Linked DNA regions of Homo sapiens: region 2 is linked to region 1. Evidence: promoter capture Hi-C in 16 types of primary human blood cells and fetal thymus (Javierre and others, 2016). All regions are on one chromosome and are shown on one strand. Each heading gives the region's core, a stretch centred on a gene start or on the middle of the fragment in contact. The rest is flanking DNA. Distances are from core to core; before and after follow the strand shown. Region 1 overlaps CPNE3 (copine 3). Region 2 holds the start of OSGIN2 (oxidative stress induced growth inhibitor family member 2).

Region 1 (7,676 bases), core at 2,874-5,373:
AAAAAGAGAAAGCAAGTAAAACAGTGCCTTTAAGAAGCACACTCATTCCTAACAAAAACAGGTGACTTCTTAAGACCAATTGTCACAATAGGCTTATAGAGTGAACTTGCCAGAATCAGACTGTTATATGCACCTCCTCAGGATGTGGGTGTCTATTAGCTCATTCCAATGATACTGCCTGCATCAGATTCTCTTGCTAGGATAAAATTCATTTACTGAATGACAGTAAAATACAGCTTTTAAGATGGCTAATAAGACATACTAATCTTCTTGGCCAGGCTCAGTGACTCATGCCTGTAATCCCAGCACTTTGGGAGGCTGAGGCAGAAGGATGGCTTGAGCTTAGGAATTTGAGACCATCATGGGCAAGACAGCAAGACCTCGTCTCTACTAAAAATAAAAAAAATTAGCCAAGCATGGTGGTGTGTGCCTATAATCCCAGCTACTAGGAAGGCTGAGGCAAGAGGATTGCTTGAACCCAAGAGATTGAGCCTGTAGTGAGCTATAACTGTGCCACTGCACTCCAGCCTGGGCAATAGAGACTCTGTCTAAAAAAAAAAAAAAAAAAAAAAAAATTTCTTTTTACCTTAACTATAAATTTTATCATTCAGAAAAACTCCAAGTATTATCTTGACCCTTCACTTAAAGGTATGCATAGCATTATACTACAAAACAGATTAAGTTTTATTTTTATTTGTTTATTTAACAAGACACTGAGTGGGATATTTTCTGTTTTCAAGATTTTTTGACTAAAACCAAAAGCCCCCAAAGCCCCCTTTCCCTCCACTCTACCCCCAGCTCCCAATATTTTGCAGCAGTGGTTCTCAATATTGGCTGCTTCCTGGAATCATCTGGAGGAGCTTTCAAAGCTACTGATGCAGGAGTTCCACTTAAAGAGATTTTAACTGGTTTAGGGTACAACCCTGACATCAGTTCCTTGGATGATTCTAATGTGTAGACAAGGTTGACAAGCCTACTATTCTACAGAGAGAAGGTGTGGCCCATCTTCCCTTATGACTTGCTAAGAAATATCAGAGTTAGCTTAACTTCCATAGACCCCTCCTTCCCCAGTCTCCAATCAATATATGAAAAGGACTGGGGATGGGATGGAGCATATGATAGGGGCTGGACTTGAGAAGGAATGTAGTATTGCTGGTGAGCTGCCTTCATCCATGAACCCAGGGAATGAAAGGGGCTGCAGGTGTCACCATGAAAAGGAACTAGGCATTGCATTTCCCATCTGGATGTCCACTTAGCCAGTGGAGGTTGATGGTGCTAGGGCAGGTTCTGCAGGAGGGAAGGTACCTACTACCCTAGAGCTGCTGGCAAACATCCTTGCAATGGGATAGTATTTAATGCCCTTTGCCCTCCACTTTGAGATTTAGCTGAAGTTCTAGGACCACAGAAACAAATCCACTCATTATCTTGTTATATTTAAATATGGCAGTAAGATTCCTGTGCTGTATAAAATGCCTAAGCAAATCTGAAGTAACAAAGATTATCATTAGAAGAGCCCTTTGTAATGTCAAAAAACAACTAACATCTTATTTAAAAATTTTGATAATTCTATTGAACTCTCTAAAAACAGTAGCAGTCCTCAACATATGTCAAAAATCAATACTAAGATTCCTAAATAAATAGAGACTAAGAAAAATGAAGTAGGTTGCATAGTCTTAGAAGTAGCTAGAAAACCCGTTTAAAAACAAAGCTGGCCGGGCACGGCAGCTCACACCTGTACTCCCAGCACTTTGGGAGGCCAAGGCAGGTGGATCACTTGAGGTCAGGAGTTCAAGACCGGCCTGGTCAACATGGTGAAACCTCGTCTCTACTAAAATACAAAAACTAGCTGGGTGTGGTGGCATGAGCCTGTGATCCCAGCTACTCTGGAGTCTGAGGTAGGAGGATCGCTTGAGACTGGAAGGCAGAGTTTGCAGTGAGCCAAGATCATGCCACTGCACTCCAACCTGGGTGACAGAGTGAGACCCCATCTCAAAAAAAAAACAAAACAAACAAACAAAAAATATGTATCTTATATATTTATATATGTGCCTAGTATACAGTAAGTGCTCACATTTTATTATCATTTTATCACTATCTGCCTCTAGGGTCTGATCCTATCTTATCTATCCCATGTTTCATATTTTTTTATTATTCCATTCCATGATTATCCTGATTATTCCAATCCATACTAAGGTGTTCCTTTGAATTCCTATTGCACTAATAGTAACAGATTACTGCATTACAGGAACAAGATCAAATTTGGGGTAATGCACACACCCAATTTTTTTTTTTTTGAGACGGAGTCTTGCTCTGTCGTCCAGGCTGTACTGCAGTGGCGCGATCTCAGCTCACTGTAGCCTCCGCCTCCCAGGTTCAAGCAATTCTCTGCCTCAGCCTCCCAAGTAGCTGGGATTTCAGGTGCCCGCCACCGCCCGGTTGAACCCTCCATCTGGCACTTGCTGTGTGACCACGTATAAGTAACTTCAACTTCCTGGGCCTAGATTTCCTCATCAGTAAAAATGGAGATAATGCAAGTAAATTTGTAAATCTGGCACGTGCCAGGCATACTGTTTTTTTGCATCTAATACAGAATCTGTAAAATAAATGTGAGTTGTATGATTTTTTTTTGCATAAGGTAGTTTAGAGTCTTGTAAGTTGTATGTCAGCAATATCAAGCATAATGCAGTGCCCTGTGGATGAACATAGAATGAGCAACAATAGCTAAAGCTTCCCCCAAAAAAACATGTAGAGGATTCTCTACCAGCCAGCAGAAAAGTCTTCAAATTTCCAAGGATGGGAAGAATTCAACAGAGAATGAAGACATCTACATGTGAAGTCAGTCTCACAGCAAAGAGACACCACATATCAGAAGAGCATTATTTTTTTCCCTAAAAATGCTTATACAAAAGCTACAAAAACAACATGCCAGGCACAGCTGATTATTTAACCAATTGCTGACAGTTATACTACTGCATTGCTGCCAGGAAACAAATTTCTTCTATTAGCAGCATTCCTCTCTGAAAAATGACTCTGTGCTGGTCTCAATGTTATCCTGAAACCCATTATGGCTGAATGGCAAATGGAAGAAATTACATAAACACTAGGGTCTGGAATCTTGTTAATGGTAATATTCATGAAGATACTGTTTTCATTTCCTTTTAATGTAATTATCCAGTACATGATATACAATTTTTTAAGAGAGCAATAGTATACTTTATCCACAAATCATAATGGGAGCTGGGCATATTGGCTCATACTTGTAATCCCAGCACTTTGGGAGGCTGAGGCAGTAGGATTGCTTGAGCCCAGGAGTTCAAGACCAGCCTGAGCAACAGAGACCTCATCTCTACAAAAACAAAAAATTTTAGGCTGGGCGCAGTGGCTCACACCTGTAATCCCAGCATTTCGGGAGGCCGAGGCAGGTGGATTATCCCAGGTCAGGAGTTTGAGACCAGCCTGGCCAACCTGGTGAAACCCCGTCTCTACTAAAAACACAAAAATTAGCCAGGCATGGTGGTACATGCCTGTAATCCCAGCTACTCAGGAGGCTGAGGCAGGAGAATCACTTGAACCTCAGAGGCGGAGGTTTCGGTCAGTGAGATCACGCCATTGCATTCCAACCTGGGCGACAGAGCAAGACTCCGTCTAAAAAAGAAAGAAAGAAAGAAAGAAAAATGAAAAAATTAGCCAGCCAAGGTGGCATGCACCTGTAGTCCCAGCTACTCAGTAGGCTAAGGCAGGAGGCTCACTCAAGTTCAGGAGTTCGAGGCCACAGTAAGCTATGCACTGCAGCCTGGGTGACAGAGCAAGACCCTGTCGCAAAAAAAAAAAAAAAAAAAATTATGATGAGGAAAAATAAAACAAACGTTTTATACTCTTTTAGTATGAAAGATTTGGCTGGGATAAGTCACCTGGCAAAGAATGCATGAGCAACTAAAGAAGAATTCTATGTAGTATTTTACTCCTTAAAGAGCAGGATAGAAAACACAAATAATCCCTAGGATTAGACAACAGCTTCCCTACTGTACAGATTATTACTTGTTGGACAAAATTTGATCCAAACACGTCTTCTGAAATGCAAATAATCCCTAGAAACACCAAATATATCAATAATTCTCCCAGTCACCCTAACGTTCTGAATCAATATTATAACAGAGATAAACATAAGGAGCTGAGAATTAAGACCTAATATTTAAAGTGGTACCTGATATGTGAAATTTAAGGCATCTGGTCATTCCCATGCCCTGGCTGAAAATCCTGAAGTCTTATCTACTTCCTCTTTTCCCATTCCTCCTTAAACCTACTCTTAGATTTATCCAGTAAAGATGTCATAGAGATTCTGCCTACTAGAACCCCAAATCTCTCCCAAACATGGAGATACAGCCGCTTTCCCATACCCAGAGTCACAACCCTAACTTCAGGTCTTCTGTATCTCTCACCTGCCTTATATAATAGTCTCCTAATGGGTATTCCCACTGCCATTTTCTCTCCATTCACATTATGGTTTTATCACTTCTGATTAAAAAGTGATAGTCCAATGAACTAAGCCTGGAATTCATGGCTCTGCCAACATCTACCCCTAATCTACCTGAACAGCTACCTCTGCCCACCCAAGTTCTTCAAGATCCACTTCAGGCCGGGCACGGTGGCTCACACCTGTAATCCCAGCACTTTGGGTGGGCGAGGTAGGGGGATCACTTGAGGTCAGGAGTTCAAGAACTCAGCCTGGCCAACATGGTGAAACCCTGTCTCTACTAAATATACAGAAATTAGCCAGGTGTGGTGGCAGGTGCCTGTAATCCCAGCTACTCGGGAGGCTGAGGCAGGAGAATCACTTGAACCAAGGAGGTGAAGGTTGCAGTGAGCCGAGATGGTACCACTGCACTCCAGCCTGGGCGACAGAGTGAGACTCTATCTCAAAACAAAACAAAACAAACACTTCAAATGATACTTCATTCATACAGCTGTTGCTGATACCCTGCTGATACCCCTCATGCTGTTATGGCACTGATTCTATTTTCTTTCCACTATTGTTACTTGTATTTGTGGCTCATCACTCCGTCTATATACTGTGAACTGTGGGCAGCGAACATATTTTACCACTTCCTCTTCTTCCTGAAGCATGACATCTGGCACAGGTTATTTGTAGCAGAAAGAGCAATAATGCTGGAGTCAGCGTGTGTCATTCAAATTTCTTTCCCATCACTAATTTGGATGTGTCACCTCTGCCAAATTGTCTATCTGAACTTCAATTTCCTAATTTATAAAATGGGGATATTAAAAAACCCTGACACTAGTCCTTCAATGTAAATAAGGCTAAGAGAGAAAAATAAACTTAATAAAAACCCTGACAACTGTAGGTCTGTAGCATGCTCAGCATATAATAGACACTCTATGAATTGTAGCAATTATTTTATTACTGAGTCAGGGATTTTAATTGATTGTCTCAGCATAGATGGCTTGTTATTAAGTAGTAAGACATAAAGCAGCTTTCTCATCCTTACTTATGAAAAGCTTCTTGAAACAATAATGATTTTTGGGATTTACATAAAATTAATTTGGTGAAATAGTCAGCCTTGAGTATAGATAAGGTACGCAGGTGAGGGGAGCGCAGGCTCATGTCAGTGACTCAAAATGTGTCCTAAAACAATTGTGAAGGAGAAGTCGGTGCCTATCTACAAATCCCTTTAGTAAAGTTCCTTCAGTCTTCAGCTGAAAAATGAAGAGACTGGCCTAATGTAAAAAATTCTCAGAAGTTCTTTCTGGTTCTAATACCATGATTCACTAACTGCTATTCTGCAGTACATCCTGCCTGACCGCTATTGAAAGCAAGCAAGGGCAACCCTGGGGCAGCTGGAACCGGCCCAGCAACATCAGCAAAACACACCCTAGGCAGTGTTTCTCAAATTGTGTTGCTCAGAATAGTAATAAGTGTTCCCCTACTAAAAAAAAAAAAAAAAAAAAAAAAAAAAAGCAGCGGGCGTCAGGTAATATGGCTGTAAATCCAAAGGCTGCTATGCTCCTCAGAGTTCCCAGGTCAGACTAGCAAATGTATTTATTACCAGGTTACTGTAAACCCATTATTTTGCTAAGGACAGCAGGGACATTATACAGCAACAGAAGCGCTTGTAGCTCATTATAATCAAATTGGGGAGACCCATTCATAAAACAATTACTTACTGAATACTTTCTAGGTGTTCCAAAAGTGAGGGTTGGGGGAGGCAAAAACGAAATAAATACTTAGCTACTTAGCTAACTATGTATACATAGAAATAGTATACAAGAGTATAAAATTGTGTGGTACAGACAGGGAACAATCAAAGTGCTCTTGGAGCTGAAGAAGCTCCCCAGAGATTTCTACTTTTACTGACGATTAAAACTATACTCCACTACAAAAAGAATTTGCAGTATTATTGCTACTGACTACCAGATTTCTTTTTCACCCTTACATTCAAGGGTAGACAGTAAGAAAGTGGGGAGTAGAAGAATAAGGGGAAAGAAAAGATAGTTAATAATTCCATACAACTGGACAGATTTTGTTTTTTTTTACAATTTTCAAAGTGCTTCCAAATAATATATTATCTTCTGAACCTTACAAAAACTCTGTGAGTTAGGCAGGATAATGATTACTACATGGTGGAAGGTCCATATGTCACAGGTATGACTATAATATAAGGCACTCCAGTGTCTGAATTGATTGACCCAGAATATGTTGATAATTTTCAGCACATTGTTAATCTTCAAAATAATGCATAGTATATATTAGGAAAAAAATATAAATTTCTTCAAAAAGGTTAAATTACTTACATGGGATCACAAAGCTAGTAAGTGTCACCACCACAGCATAAACCCAGGTATTTTCCCCTTTATGCCAAAATCCCTTCAGAGCACTAAAGCCTCTAATTAATAGTTAATTAGCTGTCAAGTAAAAATAGTATTAGTAAAAATAAATAAACTCCATAGATGTAAACAATTATGATTTTTCAATTAAAAACAATATCAAAAAATAGTTACTTAGTATAACAGCAATATTCTCTATTAATTTCCTTAAGTCTTGTTAATATCAAAAGTAATATTCAGCCTGACACAAATTAATAAAATAGGAACTTTAAAATTACAAGGTTAATACTGAGGCTAAAACTAGTTATATGGTTCTTAAACAAACGTAACCAGAATAACAAAAGCTTGCCAAAGAATGGAAGAACTGGAATGGTTTATATTTTATTTACCTCATAGCAGTTCCTCTTCAAGATAACCCATTAAATTGTAAATTACTTAAGGCTAAGAAAGCAAGTTCTCCTTGCTAGTGTGTCTCTACACACACAGGTCTGCCATGTGTGTAGGTGCCATTAGATCGTCTTAGAGCAGCAACATTTATTCTCAGGAATATACTGCACTTAATATCCAGACTCTGAGAGTAAAAAACTCACATTAAAAGAATTTAAACTACGCTTGTTCTGTATTTAGTAACAAAGTGATGCCCAGATGTATTTTTTTAATCACTACCACAGGATACCAGAAATGAAGATAGGGAATAATGTCAAGCATAAATATACATAAAACAAAACAAAAAAGAAACAAAAAGGAAGAATCACTGGATCAGGTGTCAAAAGAAATGGACTGGGCAGATCACCTGAGGTCAGGAGTTTGAGACCAGCCTGGTCAACATGGCAAAA
Region 2 (7,676 bases), core at 2,894-5,393, 3.4 Mb before region 1:
CAAAGGCATGGAATCAACCTAAACACCCATCAATGATAGACTGGATAAAGAAAACATGGTACATATGCACCATAGAATACTATACAGCCACAAAAAAGAATGAGATCAGGTCCTTTGCAGGGACATAGATGGAGCTGGAGGCCCTTATCCTTAGCAAACTAACACAGGAACAGAAAACCAAAGACCACATGTTGTCACTTATAAGGGGGAGCTAAATGAGGAGAACACATGGACACACAGAGGGGAACAACACACACTGGGGCCCACCCGAGGATGAAGGGTGGGAGGAGGGAGAGGATCAAGAAAAACAACTAATGCAAGTTTGTTCAACCCACATGCGGCCCAGGATGGCTTTGAATGTGGCTCAACACAAATTCGTAGACTTTCTTAAAACATTATGAGATTTTCTTGCCATTTTTTTAAGCTCATCAGCTATCATCAATGTGAGTGTATTTTATGTGTGGCCCAAGACAATTCTTCCAATGTGGTCCAGGGAAGCAAAAAGAGTGGACACCCCTGAACTAATGGGTACTAGGCTTAATACCTGCGTGATGAAACAAACTCCCATGACACATGTTTACCTATGTAAGAAACCTGAACTTGCATCCCTGTACTTAAAAGAAAAAACAGAATATTAAGTTTTTCAATCCATGAATATAGAATTCCTTTCCATTTATTTAGACCTTTAATTTCTCTCAACATTTTGTAGTTTTCAGTGCATAAGTATTGCATTTATTAAATTTATTCTTATGTATTTCATTTTTTGATGCTATTATATAAATGAAATACCTTTGTTAATTTCATTTTAAATTATTCAGTGTTAATGTACAGAAATACAATTCACTTTTGTATGTTGATTTTGCATCCTGCAACACCGTTGAATTTATATATTAGGTCTAGTAGTTTTTTGCATGTGCAGCCCTCAAGCAATGAAGAACCAAAGTTTAGTTTATCCAAATTCTCTACACATTAGCTTATCTAAATTTACATAGTATAGGTAATCTGCTCTGATTTTTCAGGAGCCACTGGTATAAACTCTGTGATAAACTATTTGTAGTAAACCTGCCTCCTATTTGATAGTGGTTTAACACAAAGAAAAACAAGGAAACAAAAACGGAAAGTGTGATTCACTGGTTTTACATAAAACATTAATGAAACAAGACTTTTAGTAATTATTCTTTCTAAAAAATTCAGAGCTTAAGTTATAAATTTAGTATTGCTGTACATGTTTTATAGTACATGCACAGTATATCACAGGTCTATGAACAGTGTTAATCTCTAGATTTCCAATTTGATATTTGTTCTATTTAAAACAAGAGCTTATTTTGAGTAATAAAAATCTACTTTTTCTTCGAGGCACAAATTAAAATTGGAAAATATGTACAATTACATTTAGCAACTAGTAAAGAACAGCACTTTACATGCAAAATTAGTTACTCTATTGTTAGGAAGCAAGTTAAAAGCCTATTTGACATTTAAGATGCTTTTAGAGGCCTTCCATTTTTTGTTTTTGAAACATTACAGCACAAAGTTTCAGAGAACATTTCAAAGGATAGTGTGGACATAGTATCAGGATAACAAAAAGACTTTTTCCATACCATAGCAGTACTTGTTTAAATGATCATTCAAACTAAAATGAAATGCTTTACTAACTGAATTTTTATAGTCTTTGGAACCATGAACCTAAAATTTACCAAATTTATACTACCACATGGAAAGAAGGTTCTAAAGCCACAAATGAAGTCAGTCACACTCTTCATCTTCCAGAACACGAAGGAAGAGGTTTTTTCCTTTGGAAAGTTAGTGGACAGTTCTCTCACTACTTATCCATTCAGATGTTAGACAATAGATGTCACAACCTGTTTTATAATCTGTGTTTTTTTGTGTGTTTTTTGTTTTTTTGAGACAGTCTCACTCTGTCGCCCAGCTGGAATGCAGTGGTGCGATCTCAGGTCACTGCAACGTGTCTCCTGGGTTCAAGCTATTCTCCTGCCTCAACCTCCCGAGTAGCTGGGATTACAGGTGCACACCACCCTGCCCGGCTAATTTTTGAGTTTTTAGTAGAGACGGGGTTTCACCATGTTGGCCAGGATGACCTGAACTGACCTGAAACTGCTCGAGAAATAGCACTGGTAAATCAGAAACATATTCCTGAAGGAGCTGGTAAACAACTAAAAAAAAAAATACTTTAGACACAACAGAACTGTTTTTGCAATAAAAAGTGTGGTTTATTAATCATAATGTTTATCTTTGGCAGCTAGCTTGTTTTTCTTTCTGTCCCTCCAGACCAAAACATAGCAAATACTTTGTTTTCACTCCCTACTCCAAATTTCTGTGCACGGCAGGAAGCAAATGGTATTCAACACCCAGTATTAGTCAAAAGAATATGAATCCTACACTGTGCATCAAAAGGTGTCAAATAGCTTTCACACAATATTTTCTGAAAGGCATGTTAGATTCTCATGGGCTTTATTTAGTTTAACAAGTTTCACTAGGGGAACCTATTTCCTAAAAGTTTCCATAGTGAATCTGATACCTTCAAACCGCTGTCTCAGTAGTCAACAAATTTGCCTAAAAGTTAAAATCAAGCAGTTTATTATATGAAACAATTTTTCCTTAATATCCACAACCTAGAGACTCATTCTAAACTCACTGAGAGGTTAGACAAGCTTGGATTATCGCTGTTACAAAAGAAGTTCCAAACTTTCTCTATGCCTTACATCTCTTTTACTATAGGATGACGCTTCTTAACCTCTTCTCTGAATACTGTTCTTAAATATACACAGGATTTACAAGAAAACTAATTCTATTAAAACAGTCATAAAAAGTAAACGCGATATATATATGTGCTTCTCTGTTGCATTCAATAAATTCAGTGATGTGTTACTATAATTTTGAATAAGTATAAACAGTATTTCTATATTAACTGCAATGTGATATAAACATATTTTATGATCTCTACTGATGACAGTCACAGATACTACTGTGATTTGTTGCTTATATTTTAACTGAATATTAGTTTTTAAAATTTAGTGAAATGATATACCTTTCTTTCCATCCAAGTTCATGGGTTACCTAAATTGTATGAAACCCACTATTTAGGAAGGCTTGATCAAAATTTCATATTTTACCAGGGAAGAAGTCTTACATAGAATTATTCTGGAACATCAGTATATGTAAAGCAAGGTACTAAAGTATTCCCTATGCTTAACCATTCTTCACCCCAGGGTTAAAATCAGTTTCTAGTGTCTGGTCTTTCCACCAATGACTGAGGTGTTGACCAAATGTGCTAGATCTAGAAAACATACTTTTATTTTAGAAATGTATTATATTTTATCACCCCTAAAACCTTTCCCCATAAGGTGATTGTAAAACCGCCTCATTCTTTAAATTTCTACAACACACACGTCTTACCATGGCTAACATCTTAACAAGGCAGAATCTATTTGTGATTAGATGACACTGAAATGTAGTTCCCTACCTTCCTTCCACTCATTACATTATTTAGAAGACTTTTTAAGAAATAATTTTTTTTTAGGGAGGCAGGCACTTCGTAGAACCCCCTTCACTAAAACTTTGCACTACTGGGAAGTCTCAGCTCGCCGTAACCGACTCAGTCCGGCCTAGCCGATCCCGCAGTCCCGTGACCCGCGCGGTCCAGAGCGAGAAAAGGGAACAGCGCAGGGCTCCCCGGAGCAAGGACCCCACCACACCGCACCCCACCCCACCCCCACGCCAGGCAGGACGGCCGAGGCGGGAGGACGCTGCGGTCCAGGCGCTCGCCCTCCACCCCGGTCCCGGCCCGGGCCAGGCCAAAAAGCTCGAGAGCGCGGCATCCCCGCCTGCTCCCCTCCCATCCCCGGCGAGGAAGTCACCTGAAATGACCGGCCAGGGAGCAGCGGCAGCACCACACGGGCATGGAGCGCTGCGCGAGGGGCGCCCGAGCGCGGCCGCCGTGGCCGCCTCCGCCTCCCCCGGCGAGGCTGCCCGCTCGGGGCGCCCGCTGGCTCGGGGTCGCGGGGTCTGCCGGGCGCCCCTGCCTCGCGCCTCGCCGTTGCCGCGGCTGCCCCGGCTCTGTGGCGCCGGAGTCCGCCTCCAGATAGCGGCTTCCGCTCCTCGCCTGCAGGGAGCCAGGCGCCGGAGGCGGGTGATCTCGGGGCGCCGCGATAGGGGCGGAGCGGGGCGGGGACGCTGCGACGGCGGCTGCAGCGGCGCGCGGGCCCCTCCTCGCAGGTGCGGCTGCGGCGGGCGAAGTCTGCGATTGGTGGAGCCACGGCCCGGGCGAGGGGCCGGGCCTGATGGAGCCGAGGCTGCGCGGGCAGGGGACCGAGGTCTGCAGGCAAACTGCGCGGCTCGACCGGCGGCAATCGAGACCTAGACCTCGGTCAGCGCCCCGCCGCCCCTCTGCGTGCGACTTGGTGAGGCCGGTGGGTGCGCGTCGAGAGGGCCGAGGGACGAGCGGAAGAGAAGCTGCTGCGAACTCGGGCCACCCAGATGGCCCGGCGGAGTTCCCTGCGTAAGGCGCGGCCTCGGCCACTTCGCCGAGGACCCCGGGAAGGGTCGAGCTTCCCACGCCTGAGAACCCACCTTTGGGCATTTCCTCGCGCTGCCGGGGTGCAGACGCCGGGAGCTTCCGGGTGCCTCTCCCGCTGACCCCCGCATCACAGTTACCTGGAGGACTCACCAAACCACAGGTGCCCGGGACCCGCCCACCACGCTTCTTTTATGGAAGTCCCGCTTCCGGGAAGAGGTCATCCTCCCCTCTTCATGTCTCTCAAACACCCACAAGTGTAGGAATTACCAGCACGCCGGGTGAAAATCCAGGTGCTCATCAGGCCCGCCCCAGACCACACCGGCCAGTGTGGGGAAGGGCAGGAACCCCTGCTGCTTTTTAAGCCCCTGCGGGCGTTTGTGATGCAATAGGGAGTTAGAAAAGTACTCAATAGTGAGTGTCGTTATTCGGTTTGTCAAAAATTAAAGGTGGGGAGGACAAAAATCAGGAGAGATTGATTGCATCTACTTTTCTACGGAAATGTCTAACTCCGCTTCCAAAAAAAGCCGTAATTATTTTTGTGCTTCAAATATACGTTTATGTTTATATCTTTCAACATAATTTTGTAAAACAAATGTTAAGTTTTACTGAATGTTGTCACTGAACAAACTTGTGATGAGCAGGTATTTTAGAGTCTTGGGGTCTTAAAAGAAAATCATAGGACTCAGACTGCCCCAGAGTTATGCAATCTAAGAGTATATTAACCACTTTTAAGTATTATATGTTTTTCTCTTTTTTGAGCTTTTGTCGATTTGACACGTTCATTTCATTTGAATGTTGGTTCTGAAAATGAAGCATGTAGTTACTTTTCCGTTAACATACATAACAGCATTTTAAAGTACCTAAATTCCTTTTGGAAGGCCGAGGCGGACGGATCACCTGAGGTCAGAAGTTCCAGACCAGCCTGACCAACATGGTGAAACCCGTTTCTACTAAAAATACAAAACCTAGCCCCGGGCGTGGTGGCACGCGCCTGTAATCCCAGCTACTCAAGAGCCTGATGCAGGAGAATCGCTTGAAACCGGGAGGCGGAGGTTGCAGTGAGCTGAGATCGCGCCACTGCACTCAGCCTGGGCCAAAGAGTGAGACTCCGTATCAAAAAATAATAATAAAGTACCTGGCCGGGCGCGGTGGCTCACGCTTGTTATCCCAGCACTTTGGGAGGCCGAGACGGGCAGATCACGAGGTCAGGAGATCGAGACCATGGTGAATGGCGTGAACCCGGGAGGCGGAGCTTGCAGTGAGCTAAGATCGCGCCACTGCACTCCAGCCTGGGCGACAGAGCGAGACTCCGTCTCAAAAATAAATAAATAAAGTACCTACATTCCTAAAAGCAGTGCTTAATTCTGCAGCACATATACTAAAATTAGAATAATATAAAGATTAGCATGGCCCCTTCCCAAGGATAACACGCAAATTCGTGAAGCGTTCCGTATTTTTAAATATATACACCTACTATGTAACCAAAAAAATTAAAAATAAACATATAAATTCCTGAAAGCTATGCCAGTCCAATCCAGATAATTCTTTTAATTTTTAATTTTTATTTTTTGTGAGTACATGGTATATATATTTATGGGGTACATGAGATTTTGATACAGGCATACAATAAGTAATAATCACATCAGGGTACATGGAGTATCCATCACCTCAAATATTTATCCTTTCTTTGTGCTACAAACAATCTAATTATACTTAGTTATTTTAAAATGTTCAATGAATTATCGTTGACTAGTCACTCTCGTGCTGTCAAATACTAGATCTAATTCTGTCTATACTTTTGTACCTATTAACCATCCCCACTCTGCCCCTTAATTCCCCACTACCCTGCCCAGCCTTGTAACCATCATTCTATTCTCTGTTAGTTCCGTTGTTTTAATTTTTAGCTCCCACAAATAAGTGAGAACATGCAGAGTTTGTCATTCTGTACCTGGCCTATTTCACTTAAAGTAGTGACATCAGTTGCATCCATTTTGTTGAAAATAACAGGATCTCATTCATTTTTATGGCTGAATGCTACTACGTTGTGTACATAAACCACATTTTCTTTATTTGTCTATTGATGGACACTTAGGTTGTTTCCAAATCTTGGCTGTTGTGAACAGTGCTGCAATAAACATGGGAGTGCAAGTATATCTTAGGATATACTGATTTCCTTTCTTTGGGGTATATACCTATCAGTGGCATTGCTGGATCATGTGGTAGCTCTATTTTTAGCTTTTTGAGGAATATCCAAACTATTCTCCGTAGTGGCTGTACTAATTTACATTCCCACCAACAGTGTACAAGGGTTCTCTTTTCTCCACATCCTCATCAGCATTTGTTATTGCCTGTCTTTTGGATATAGGCCATTTTAATTATGATGAAATGATATCTCATTGTAGTTTTGATTTGCATTTCTCTGATGATGAGTGATGTTGAGCACCTTTTCATATACTTATTTGTCATTTGTATGCCTTCTTTTGGTAAATGTCTATTCACATCTTTTGCCCATTTTAAATTTTTTTTTTTTTTGAGAGATAGGTTCTTGCTCTGTCATCCAGGCTGGAATGCAGTGGTTTGATCTAGCTCACTGAAGCTTCGAACTCCTGGGCTCAAGTAATCCCCCCACTTCAGCCTCCTGAGTAGCTGGGACTAGAGGTGTGCACCACCACACCTAGCTAAATTTTCTTTTAATTTTTTTTTCTTTTTTTTTTTTTTGTAGAGATGGGGTTTCTACAAAAAAACAGCCTGCCCATGTTGCCCAGGCTGGTCTTGAACTCCTGGCCTCAAGTGATCCTCCTGCCTTGGCCTCCCAAAGTGCTGGGATTACAGGTGGGAACCATGGTGCCTGGCCCTTTTGTCCTTTTTAAACTCAGATTATTATAATTTTTCCTATTAAGTTGTTCATGCTCCTTATATATACTGGTTATTAATCCCTTGTCAGATGGATAGTTTGCAAATATTTTATTCCCATTCTGTGGATTGTCTCTTTGTTGATTGTTTCCTTTGCGGTGCAGAAGCTTTTTATCTTGATGTGGTCACATTTATCCATATTTGCTTTGGATGCCTGTGCTTTCAGGGTATTACTCAGCAACTCTTTTGCCCAGCCCAATGTCCTGGAGAGCTTCCTCAATGTTTTCTT

Evidence for each region. Contacts are between HindIII fragments. The CHiCAGO score rates a contact against its expected background, and 5 or more counts as called.
Region 2: a contact is called between the fragment with the promoter of OSGIN2 here and a fragment that was not itself captured in region 1, in 1 of 17 cell types (non-activated CD4 T cells). The highest score is 7.5, in non-activated CD4 T cells.

What each region holds. Positions count from the first base shown.
Region 1 is chr8:86,520,846-86,528,521 of GRCh38, reverse strand. The region is part of intron 2 of CPNE3 (copine 3); the gene reads right to left. Among named protein-coding and RNA genes, the nearest start is that of CPNE3, 10 kb to the right of the region's middle. RefSeq lists enhancers at 5,065-5,114, 5,135-5,234. The HindIII fragment of the contact is 2,787 bases long and covers 2,730-5,516 here.
Region 2 is chr8:89,899,037-89,906,712 of GRCh38, reverse strand. OSGIN2 (oxidative stress induced growth inhibitor family member 2) reads right to left here and starts at 4,143. Exons shown (of 6, transcript NM_001126111.3): 1 at 3,876-4,143. The coding sequence starts at 3,919. LOC124901974 (a long non-coding RNA gene) reads left to right here and starts at 4,307. Exons shown (of 2, transcript XR_007061001.1): 1 at 4,307-4,694; 2 at 7,257-7,676. It also overlaps the pseudogene RNU6-925P. RefSeq lists silencers at 2,519-2,578, 3,572-4,021, 4,052-4,391, 4,141-4,439 and enhancers at 4,733-5,498, 5,499-6,264. The HindIII fragment of the contact is 4,461 bases long and covers 2,672-7,132 here.